Regions from separate parts of the Homo sapiens genome. Here region 1 is linked to region 2. The links are contacts of gene promoters, found by promoter capture Hi-C in human tissues and cell types (Jung and others, 2019). All regions are on one chromosome and are shown on one strand. The core of a region is centred on a gene start or on the middle of the fragment in contact, and the rest is flanking DNA. Distances in the headings are between cores, read along the strand shown. Region 1 has its middle 88 kb from the start of LINC01788. Region 2 holds the start of PTGER3 (prostaglandin E receptor 3).

Region 1 (5,863 bases), core at 3,280-5,779, 250 kb before region 2:
TGAGCCAAGATTGCACCACTGCATTCCAGCCCAGGCAACAGAGTGAGACTGTCTAAAAAAAAAGAAAGAAAGAAAGAAAGAAAGAAAGAAAGAAAGAAAGAAAGAAAGAAAGAAAGAAAAAGAAGCTTCAAGCTTTAGTGAGACTTGACTTCCAGAGTGACCTGGTTCTTCATCTGTGATGGGTGCTCTCCTGAAAAAAAGGTCATTCAAGAAGAAATTTCTTCCTCCTCAGGAAAGTTTTCTTTGATAGCTAAAGTATTGATTGTTTAGCCAATTGCTGAAACTTGAGAAAAACTTCCATGAAATAAATCTAATAAAGTAGTCCACAAAAACAAACTGTGGTAAGGATGAATAAAATATGATTAGTAATCTTTTAGAGATGTTAAAGAAAACCTTTATAAGAGTGTCATTATTCTTCTTTTTAGTACCAGTGTATTATTAATGAGAGCAAATATTTGACTTCTCTGCAGTTGCTTCGACTTAATTTGAAAACACATTTAGTTTGGACGTTGAAAGTAAATTTAGTAATGTCTTAATACTGAATTTTTACACCGATGCTCAAGTATATTCAGTGTATAAATCATCTTTATCTGCCTCCTTAAAGTATTTAGAAAAAATTGAGGCAATAATATTGATACCTAAATGATAAGCACGTGGATCTGCTTATTTATGTTTTTTTTTCTTAACCATCTCATCAAGATGGAGTGCAAAGGCATGTAGCAAAGTTCTAGAAAAGAAGGTCTACATTCAAGAAAGGTTCCAGCAAATATCCTTAAAGCCATTTGAATGGAATATTTACCCTGAATAGATTACCTTCAAAAATTGTATCTTGTTTCTGTAACTGTAATAAATAGTACAACAGAGTGAAATTACCCACGAATGAAGGAAGAAACTCTGTTTTATTTATCCTTGTGTGTATAAACCTAAGTAGTGCCTGGCTTAGATGAGGTATTTAATATATATATATCAGACTGAATGGATATATACTGATATATTGAGCTTTATTCTTTCCAACATATCCAGGAACTACTAATTATGGAAAGAGGAGTTTTCCCTACATGTGTACACACACATCCCTGACAATCCCTTAATTTTCTAGTCCTACCCTTGCATTCTGTGGCCAAACACGAGCTTCACCAGCTACTGTGCTGCCAGAATCCAACGAAGATGAAGTCGAGATGGAGGTATTGCCAATATTTGAAAAGCAGATCCCCTTTGCTCTTGCTTCCTTCCACACCTTTCTCAGACCCTATAAAATCACCCCAAGATTAAACTCACATGTTCACTTATATCTTTCCTATCTGATCATTTTTTGCAATTTTTAAAAATTATGACAGAATACACAAAACATAAAATTTATATCAATTTTTAATATTTTTCCCATTACCTTTGATGTTTTGCCATGCTACTTTGATAGTACTGGGTGATTTTTTTTAAAATTCTGCCCCACATGTAGGGAGATTTTTCAATTTGATAGCTGCAATATTTCTTCTAGAAATTGTTAACATTTGCTTAAATAACAGCAATTTATTGTCTCAGAGTTCTGGGGTCTAGAAATCAGAGATCAAGGTGTCAGCACGGTCCATTCCTTCTACGGTCTATGAGGGAGAATCCATCCCATGACTCTCTTCTAGCTTCTAGTGGTTTGCTGGCAATCTTCGGCATTCCTTGGCTTCTCTTGTATTACCTTGACATCTGCCTTCATCTTCACATGGTACTTTCCTTGTATGTGTGTCTATACCCAAAATATCCCCTTATTTCTTTGCCAGAGCAATCAGGCAAGAGAAATAAATAAAAGGCATCCAAATAGAAAAAGAAATTGTCGAACTATCTCTCTTTACTAACAATATTACTCTATTACTCCACCAAGAGCCTCCTGGAACTCATAAATAACTTCAGTAAAGTTTCAGGATACAAAATCAATGTTATTGGCATACAAAAATCAATAGCATTTTTGTATGCCAATAACATTCAAGCTGAGAGCCAAATCAAGAATGCAGTTCCATTTACAATAGCCCTCCCCAAAATAATATACCTAGGAATACATTAAACCAAGGAGGAGAAAGACCTCTACAAGGAGAACTACAAAACACAGCTAAAAGAAATCAAGATGACACAAACAAATAAAAAACATTCCATGCTCGTGGATTAGAAGAATTAATATTATTAAAATGGCCATACTTACCAAAGCAATCTACAGATTCAACACTATTCCTATTAAGCTACCAATGTTATTGTTTACAGAGTAAAAAAAATTCCCACTATTCTAAAATTCATATAGAACTGAAAAAGAGACTGCATAACCAAAGCAATCTAAGCAAAAACAAACAAACAAACAACAACAACAACAACAAAAACAAAGCTGTAAGCATCACATTACATTCCTTGACTACAAACTATATTATAAGGCTAAGTAGTCCAAACAGCATGGTACTAGTATAAAAACAGACAAATAAACCAATGGAACAGAATAGAGAGCCTGGAAGTAAAGCTGCACACCTACAGCCATCTGATCTTTGACAAAGTTGATGAAAATATGCAATGGGGAAAGGACTCCCTATTCAATAATTGGTGCTGGGATTGCTGTCTAGACATATGCAAAAGAATGAAACTGGACCTCTCTTACCATATATAAAAATTAACTCAAGACAGATTAAATATTTAAATATAAGACCTCAAACTGTAAGAATCCTAGAAGAAGCTAGGCATGGTGGCTTACATCTGTAATCCCAGCACTTTGGGAGGCTGAGGTGGGTGGATCACCTGAGGTCAGGAGTTCGGCACCCACCTGGCCAACATGGTGAAACCCCATCTCTACTAGAAATAAAAAAATTAGCTGGGCATGGTGTCTTATGCCTGTAATCCCACTACTTGGGAGGATGAGGCAGGAGAATCACTTGAACCTGGGAGGTGGAGGTTGCAGTGAATCGAGATTGTGCCACTGCCCTCCAGCCTGGGTGACAGAGTAACACTCCATCTCAAAAATAAAAAAAAAATAAAAAGAAAGAAAGAAAATTCTAGAAGAAAACCTAGGAAACACCCTTGTGGACATTGGCCTTAAAACAATTTCAACAAAAACAAAAATTGACAAGTGGGATCTAAGTAAACCAAAGAGCTTCTGCACAGCAACAGAAACTAACAACAGAGTAAACAGACAACCTATAGAATGGGAGAAAATATTCACAAACTATGCATCTGACAAAGGTCTAATATCCAGAATCTATAAGGAACTTAAATCAACAAGCAAAAAACAACCCCATTAAAAAGTGGGCAAAAAGGATGAACAGACACTTCTCAAAACAAGGACATACAAGTGGCCATCAAACATATGAAAACGTGCTCAGCATCACTAATGGTCAGATAAATGCAAATCAAAACCACAATGAGATACCATCTCATACCAGTCATTATAGCTATTATTATTATCTTTTTTATTATACTTTAAGTTCTGGGATACATGTGCAGAATGTGCAAGTTTGTTACAGAGGTATACATGTGCCATAGTAGTTTGCTGCACCCATCAACCCTCATCTAGGTTTTAAGCCCAACACGCATTAGGTATTTGTCCTAGTGCTCTCCCTCCCCTTGCCCCCTACCCCCAACAAGACCCAGTGTGTGATGTTCCCCTCCCTGTGTCCATGTGTTATTATTGTTCAACTCCCACTTGTGAGTGAGAACATGCCGTGTTTGGTTTTCTGTTCTTTATTTTTTTTTTTCTTGAGATGGAGTCTCACTGTTTCACCCACGCCAGACTGCAGTGGTGCAATCTCTATCTCAGCTCACTGCAAGCTTCTCCTCCCAGGTTCACGCCATTCTCCTACCTCAGCCTCCCAAGTAGCTGGGACTACAGGTGCCTGCCACCGCGCCCGGCTAATTTTTTGTATTTTTAGAAGAGACAGGGTTTCACCATGTTAGCCAGGATGGTCTCGATCTCCTGACCTCGTGATCCGCCCGCCTCAGCCTCCCAAAGTGCTGGGATTACAGGCGTGAGCCACTGCCCCCGGCCCAGTTTTCTGTTCTTGTATTAGTTTGCTGAGACTGATGGTTTCCAGCTTCATTCATGTCCCTGTAAAGGACATGAACTCATTCTTTTTTATGGAGGCATAATATTCCATGGTATATATGTGCCACATTGTCTTTACACAGTTTATCATTGATGGACATTTGGGTTGCTTCCAAGTCTTTGCTATTGTGAACAGTGCCGCAATAAACATACACGTGCATGTGTCTTTATAGCAGAATGATGTATAATCCTTTGGGTATATACCCAGTAGTGGGATTGCTGGGTCAAACGCTGTTTCTGATGCTAGATCCTTGAGGAATCACCACTGTCTTACTCAATGGTTGAACTAATTTACACTCCCACCAACAGTGTAAAAGCATTCCTATTTCCCCACATCCTCCCTATCTATTGTTTCCTGACTTTTTAATGATCACCATTCTAACTGACGTGAGATGATACCTCATTGTGGTTTTGATTTGTATTTCTCTAATGACCAGCAATGATGAGCTTTTTTTCATATGTTTGTTGGCTGCATAAATGTCTTCTTTTGAGAACTGTCTGTTCATATCCTTTGCCCACTTTTTGATAGGGTTGTCTTTTTCTTGTAAATTTAACTTCCTTGTAGATTCTGGATATTAGCCCTTTGTCAGATGGATAGATTGCAAAAATTTTCTCCCATTCTGTAGGTTCCCTGTTCATTCTGATGATAGTTTCTTTTGCTGTGCAGAAGCTCTTTAGTTTAATTAGATCCCATTTGTCAATTCTGGCTTTTGTTAACATTGCTTTTGGTGTTTTAGTCATGAAGTTTTTGCCCATGGCTAGGTCCTGAATGGTATTGCCTAGTTTTCTTCTAGGGTTTTTATGTTTCAAGTTTTATGTTTAAATCTTTAATCCATCTTGAGTCAATTTTTGTATAAGGTATAAGGATGGGGTCCAGTTTCAGTTTTCTGCATATGGCTAGCCAGTTTTCCAAGCACCATTTATTAAATAGGTTGTCCTTTCCCCACTGCTTGTCTTTGTCAGGTTTGCTGAAGATCAGGTGGTTGTAGATGTGTGGTATTATTTCTGAGGCCTCTGTTCTGTTCCATTGGTCTATATATCTGTTTTGGTATCACTACCATGCTGTTTTGGTTACTCTAGCCTTGTAGTATAGTTTGAAGTCAGGTAGCATGATGCCTCCAGTTTTGTTCTTTTTGCCTAGGACTGTGTTTGTTATATGGGCTCTTTTTTGGTTCCATATGAAAAACCAAACACCGCATGTTCTCACTCATAGGTGGGAATTGAACAATGAGAACACATGGACACAGGAAGGGGAACATCACACACCAGGGCCTGTTGGGGGGTGGGGGAGGGGGGAGGGATAGCATTAGGAGATATACCTAATGTTAAATGATGAGTTAATGGGTGCAGCACACCAACATGGCACATGTACACATATGTAACAAACCTGCACGTTGTGCATATGTACCCTAAAACTTAAAGTATAATTAAAAAGAAAAAAAGAAATTTATAGTAGATTTTTCTAGCTCTGTGAAGAAAGTCAATGGTGGCTTGATGGGAATAGCATTGAATCTATAAATTGCTTTGGTCAGTATGGCCATTTTCATGATATTGATTCTTCCTATCCATGAACATGGAAAGTTTTTCATTTGTTTGTATTCTCTCTTATTTCCTTGAGCAGTGGTTTGTAATTCTCCTTGAAGAGGGCTTTCACGTCCCTTGTAAGTTGTATTTCTAGGTGTTTTATTCTCTTTGTAGCAATTGTGAATGGGAGTTCACTCATGATTTAGCTCTCTGTCTATTATTGGTGTATAGGAATGCTTGTGATTTTTGCACATTGATTTTGTATCCTGAGACTGC
Region 2 (5,936 bases), core at 2,322-4,821:
TGGCCAACATGGTGAAACCCCATCTCTACTAAAAATACAAAAATTAGCCAGGTGTGGTGGCGGGCGCCTGTAATCCTAGTGACTCCAAAGGCTGAGGCAGTAGAATCACTTGCACCTGGGAGGTGGAGGCTGCAGAGAGCTGAGATCTCACCACTGCACTCCAGCCTGGAGTTTTTTTTTTTGAGACAGAGTCTCAAAAAAAAAAAAAATTCTCCTTTTTGATATGATCACATGTTTAATTTATTTTGTTTAATGTTTTTATAATTGAATTAATAAAGTACCCAGTAAAATGCTATAAATCAATAAGTATTATCCAAATGAAAATAAATTGAAATTAAGTAAGACTAGTTTCAAATGCAGTCTTTCTTGAAAGAGTGAGTTTGGCCATCCTAAATTACAGTTTTCAAGATTGATCTACTTTCTTTCTGAGGCCACCATACTTTTGGTACTAGAATTAAAGTGTCTAAATCAAAAACACACTACATGGCTTCGCTTTGACTTAAAAACAAAATGCACAAACAATAAATTATAAGTCTGATTAACTGTATGGGTATTTTGTTCAATTGATTTAACTGCATTTTTTTTCCCTAGGATATAAATCATGTGATACAGCAAACTCAAAGATGTGGGACTCAAATGACACTTGTGAAAAACTGATACCCTGTTTGCCTTTAAAGTTATATTAATTACCACACTTTAGTAAAGTGTTTACTATTTAGAACTCTTTCTTCCTTCCTAGTTGGCCACCTGTACACTCCATTCCTCAGCCATAAAAGTAAATACTGTATATCTAAAACTGGTGCTGGTTTTGATAAGCCATAGTGATGACATCAGCCTGAGTTCCAACTCCTGGAATAAAGAACTGTGACCATACAGCGACTTGTGGGCAGTTAGGTCTCAGCATAACACTCCTTGTCCCCTCATGTCACTGATTTGGAGCCAAGGTTTGTGCTCCAATCTACCAAACCAGGTTAAAGAAATTACATTTCTATTTTCAAATGCAAGGGATTTAAAAGTATACATGGCGCACAAAAAACTCAACGTACTTAATGCCTAATGCCACTGAACTGTACACATAATAATGGTTAAAATACTGAATTGTATGTAATATATTTTACCATAATTAGGAAAGAAAAAAAACTGCGTTCACGTGTTTCAAAGGTTTTCCACAACTGTATAATACATATAGTTGGTTATACCTTTGTAACAGTGACCATATCGCTCTTTCTGCAACATCTATTAACCCAGACACCCCAGGGCCTAAGTAAGCATCCATTCTTCAGGAATTAGTAAACAGCACTTACACACGGACATTTCTAGCTAAAAGTAACACAGACAAAAAAACCTCAAAAATATCACGTAAGGGCAGGTGTTAGGCAAAGAGCCTCTGCAAACATCCCTTGCTCCTCTGCATTGCTCTGGTGTGAGGAGCTAGGACATGGAGAAACCTCTACCTCCTATCTCAGGATTAGCGAACCCTGCTTGAGTGCTACAAGGGTAAGTAAATGCTGGCCTGAAGAAGCTGCTGAGCTTCCGGATCCCACTGACTGTCGTTCGGGCACTTCCTAGAGGGTCAAGCACCATGGCGAAAGGCTGAGGAGGCAACTCGTATCTTTCATTCTCCTGCCTCATCAAGAATGAACCTTGAAGGCACCCATAGGTCGCGCAGTCTTTCAGAAGCTGCAGGAGGGCTGTGACTGTATGGGGTTGCAGACTGAAAATCTTATTAACGTGAAAGAGGAATTTGAAATTAAAAAAAAAAAACCCGGCCGGGCGCGGTGGCTCACGCTTGTAATCCCAGCACTTTGGGAGGCCGAGGCGGGTGGATCACGAGGTCAGGAGATCGAGACCACGGTGAAACCCCGTCTCTACTAAAAATAAAAAAAAAAAATTAGCCGGGCGTGGTGGCGGGCGCCTGTAGTCCCAGCTACTCGGAGAGGCTGAGGCAGGAGAATGGCGTGAACCCGGGAGGCGGAGCTTGCAGTGAGCCGAGGCTGCGCCACTGTACTCCAGCCTGGGTGACAGAGCGAGACTCCGTCTCAAAAAAAAAAAAAAAAAAAAACCCCACAATATCAGGCTACAGTTATCATAGCAATTCTGCTTTTAATGCACTCAGGACAAACTTCTAGCTCTGCATATATGTCATTTCAATGACACATCCTGTCTCCTACCCGACTAGAATGTGAGCAGCCCTGTGATCTCTATGTGCTCATAAACAGTGCCTAATGCGAATCCTGGCTCTTGGAAGGCGCTCAGCTAGTAAGTGAGGAGCTCAGCTCTGAAGCTGTAACCAAGACCGCGCGGGCAGGAGGAAAGGACACTTCAGCGCTCTGCGGTTGCAAACACACCCCTGCGGGTGCTGCCACTTAGCAAAGTCTTAGGTTCCCGCTTACTCGCACACGCATCCTGACTTCCCCCAACCCTGGAACTACCTACCAGGAGCGGAGACCAGCAGACCGACAGCACGCACATGATCCCCATAAGCTGAATGGCCGTCTCGGTCGTGATGCGGCCCCACTGGGCACTGGACTGAGATGCCGTGGCCTTGGCCCGGCAGCGGGACACCAGGGCCTTAATGGTGGCCAGGTTGCAGGAAAAGGTGACTGTCAGCGCCAAGAGCCCCAGGAAGGCAAAGGCAGAGGCGAAGAAAAGGTTGCCCCAGTTATGCGAAGAGCTAGTCCCGTTGCCCCCTCGCCCGGTGCTGATGAAGCACCACGTCCCGGGCCACTGGACGGTGTACTGGCCCACGCCCAGCACCGGCAGCAGGGCGAAGGCGAGCACGGCCAGCCACACGCCGAGCAGCACAGCGCGGGTGGCACGCGTCTTCATGTGGCTCGCATACCAGTGCGGCGCCCTGATGGCCAGCGCCCGCTCGACGGCCATGGCGCTGGCGATGAACAACGAGGAGAGCCCGAAAACAGTCATGGTCAGCCCGAAAAAGGTGCAGAGCCGCCCCGACGGGTCGATGTGCTCCCAACGCTGCTTGGACAGGTACACGACGATGACGACCGGGGTGGTGAGAAGCTGCCCGACCAGGTCGGTGAGCGCCAGCCAGCCGATGCACAGCAGGAAGGACTTCTTGCGCTTGCTCTCCCGGCGCCGGTAGCTGCGCGACACGAGCAGCATGGCCAGTGCGTTGCCCACGAAACCAGTGAGCAGCATGGTGATCGGGAAGGCCACGGACACCGATCCGCAATCCTCGCCAGACCCTGGAGGGCGCGTGAGGTTGCCCCGCGCCTCGGCGGAACGCTCGGGCGCCCACATGCCTGTGTAGGAGTGGTTGAGGCGGGTGCAGAAGGGGGCATCCCCTCCGTAGCCCCGGGTCTCCTTCATGTTGGCTTCGAGGTGAGGAGGGGATGGCGTCCAGAGAGCCGCAGCGGGAGGGGGCAGACGCGGCGCGGGCGGCGGCGGAGGTCGGCGTTTACCGCGGCTGGGGCTGGGCTGCCCCCCATGGTGCGGGGCGCAGCCGCCGCCCTACTCCGCTGCTGGGACCGCGGCCGCGGCGGCGCCAGGGCTCACTGGCCCGGGAGGGAGCCACGCCTTCCTCTCTGGGAAACCTCTGGTGGCGAGGCGCGCGGAGGTGCCGAGTCCCCTTTATAAGGCCGAGGGGGCGGGGCGCCCGTGGGTGTGGACAGAACCGAGGTGGGAGGAGGGTGCAAAGCAACTGAGCGCCTCTCTTGGCTGTTGCCTATCCTGATCGCCTGGGTTGGGAAGCCCCAGACGGTCTCCTCTGAAACGCCCTGCTCCTGGCCGGACCGGGAGCCCACTGGGGTCTCCTCCAGTTCTCCGCTAAAGTGTCGGTGGACGGCAAGCAGCTAATAAGTAGCACTGGACTTGCGGACCCCAGGCAAACTGCCGAGGCGCACCTGAGCGCTCGTCCTCCTGCTTCTTCAACCACAAACGCTCCTACAGGGACGGGATCCTTCTCCTGAAGTCCTTTAGTAACTCTGGTAAAGTGAAAATCGCCTGTCCTTAAGCAATCCACACAAGCCTTTGCATAGCTGATCGTTAACTTTTTTCCTTTCTGCTTTGTGACTCTAGAGTGATTATAAAAAGGCCAAGGTGTCCTGTCCCCTGGGGTGCCGCTGAAAACTATAAAATTACTAGACAGTGCCTGTAGACTTAAGGGAATAGACACAGGGAAACAAATACATCGGATGGTTGAATTCCAAGACCAAGAAATCCCAACTACTACCCCTCGCCTAATCCTGCCCGCTCCCCTCCCCACCACCCAACAAAAAGGTCAGCTATGGCAAAAGTGGCTACAGGAAGGTGGCATCAATTTGCATATCTGAGGTAGTGAAATCAACTGCTCCCAGCCTATGGGAGTGAGAGGGGAGCAGAAGAGAAAGGTATTCCTTACAAAGCCTCCAACCATCCTTCTTATCTTCATACAATAAGAACTAGAAAAGGTATTCAGATGTTATGAAGGCCTTAATCTATATGGAAACTTTGCCTTTGAAATAATAAACATTGAATGAAAATAGGCATACTTGCTTGCCTCGTAACATCTTTCAGTAAGCCAATATTTTATGTACTTCTCACAAGCATTTTCTCATTTTATCACAGAAATCCTCCAAGGTACTATTGCTATTATTATTTCCCTTAAAGGTGGGGTAACTGAGGCCCCATGAAGTTAAAGAATGTTCCTGAAGTCTCTCAGCAATTCTCAAGTCCCATCTTATTTGAAGCATGTATTCCTGACATGGGTCCCATAACTGCTCTCAGCAGATGAATATTAACGGTGAGATCATCTTCCCCTAATCTTGGGAAAGTCTTGTGTTTTTTGCTTTTTGCCTTTTTACACTGTCTAAGAGATGAAAAGATTTTTAAAAATAATTGCAAAGTTCATTTTTCCTCATATTTAAGAAATTAGACTTAATCATATAGCACTCTAAAGACCATTATTTTGATTGACACAGATCAACTTTCAGAACAAGCCCAATCAGTTTTGCCTTTCCTAGCTTAGCTGATGTTCTGTATGGGTGTTCTTAACTTTTAAATTACTGTTAAGAGGTAAGAATGGGATATGTCCCTCTGCATACTTTATGTGCTGTTGTCTTGATTCTGTATGAGAGTTTGAAAAAATATCACTATAACATTATATGTTTTTTAAAGAAGGAAAAGCAAGAATGCAACTTAAACTCCATTTTAATAAGATGCATTAATCACAACATGAATTTCATTTTGTGTTTTGCTGTCATTTAAAAATGTTTTGCACTTTTGCGTTTTACTGACTAAAATGTCACGTTTACAATGGGAACAACAGCTAGGAAGGGTGAAATGGTTTGATTCTAAAATCTTCCGTAAACTTTTGTCTTATTATTTTGAATTAATCTCAAACCTGTATTTGGGATAGTATTTTTCTAGCCTAATATCATTTGAAAATAAAATAATATTTGAGGTTATTCTTAGACAAAGCTTTATCCAAAGCATTTGGATGAAAGTGGCTATCAAGTTTATACCATCTATAGTTAGTAAAATTCTAGTGTAATTCAATATTTAAAATTTAAGACCATATCACCATTCACACAGCAAAGGAAGCAAGGCTTATCTTTTTCCAGTTACATCAAAAACTATTCTCATTTTTATTCACAAATATTTGACTTCTTTGAAACTTTTACTTCTCCCACTGAAGTGCTTGCTGTAGCCAATTGGACTTGATAAGCATGGTAAGCGTCGGGGCATGTATTAGTAAAGAATTGTTAGCCTCTCACTAACCTCTATGCCAATGAACAAAATGTGTTGCATTTCAGATAATTTGGGTATTTCTCTTCTTTCAGCACTTTGCTTCATCCTATATTGTCTGCCTTTAGCTATTCACCTTGTAAACAAGTGACTGTGAGGTTTTGTGGAGTAACAGTGTGAAGCTGGCAGTTGGATTCTGGTTGGTACTTTCTGGTCAGTTACTACGGATATAGTGTGAATTGTGTTGG

Evidence for each region. The method cuts DNA at HindIII sites, captures the fragments that hold promoters and counts their contacts. A contact is called where the count stands out against the background at its distance.
Region 1: a contact is called between a fragment that was not itself captured here and the fragment with the promoter of PTGER3 in region 2, in 2 of the 25 tissues and cell types used here (H1 embryonic stem cells and heart left ventricle).

Annotation. Positions count from the first base shown.
Region 1 is chr1:70,791,953-70,797,815 of GRCh38, forward strand. No RefSeq gene overlaps it. Among named protein-coding and RNA genes, the nearest start is that of LINC01788, 88 kb to the left of the region's middle. The HindIII fragment of the contact is 8,802 bases long and covers 129-5,863 here.
Region 2 is chr1:71,044,245-71,050,180 of GRCh38, forward strand. PTGER3 (prostaglandin E receptor 3) reads right to left here and starts at 3,572. Exons shown (of 4, transcript NM_198719.2): 1 at 2,437-3,572. The coding sequence starts at 3,333. It overlaps ZRANB2-AS1 (ZRANB2 antisense RNA 1), which reads left to right and starts at 2,262. Exons shown (of 3, transcript NR_038420.1): 1 at 2,262-3,345; 2 at 4,570-4,744. RefSeq lists an enhancer at 2,986-3,569. The HindIII fragment of the contact is 12,323 bases long and covers 1-5,936 here.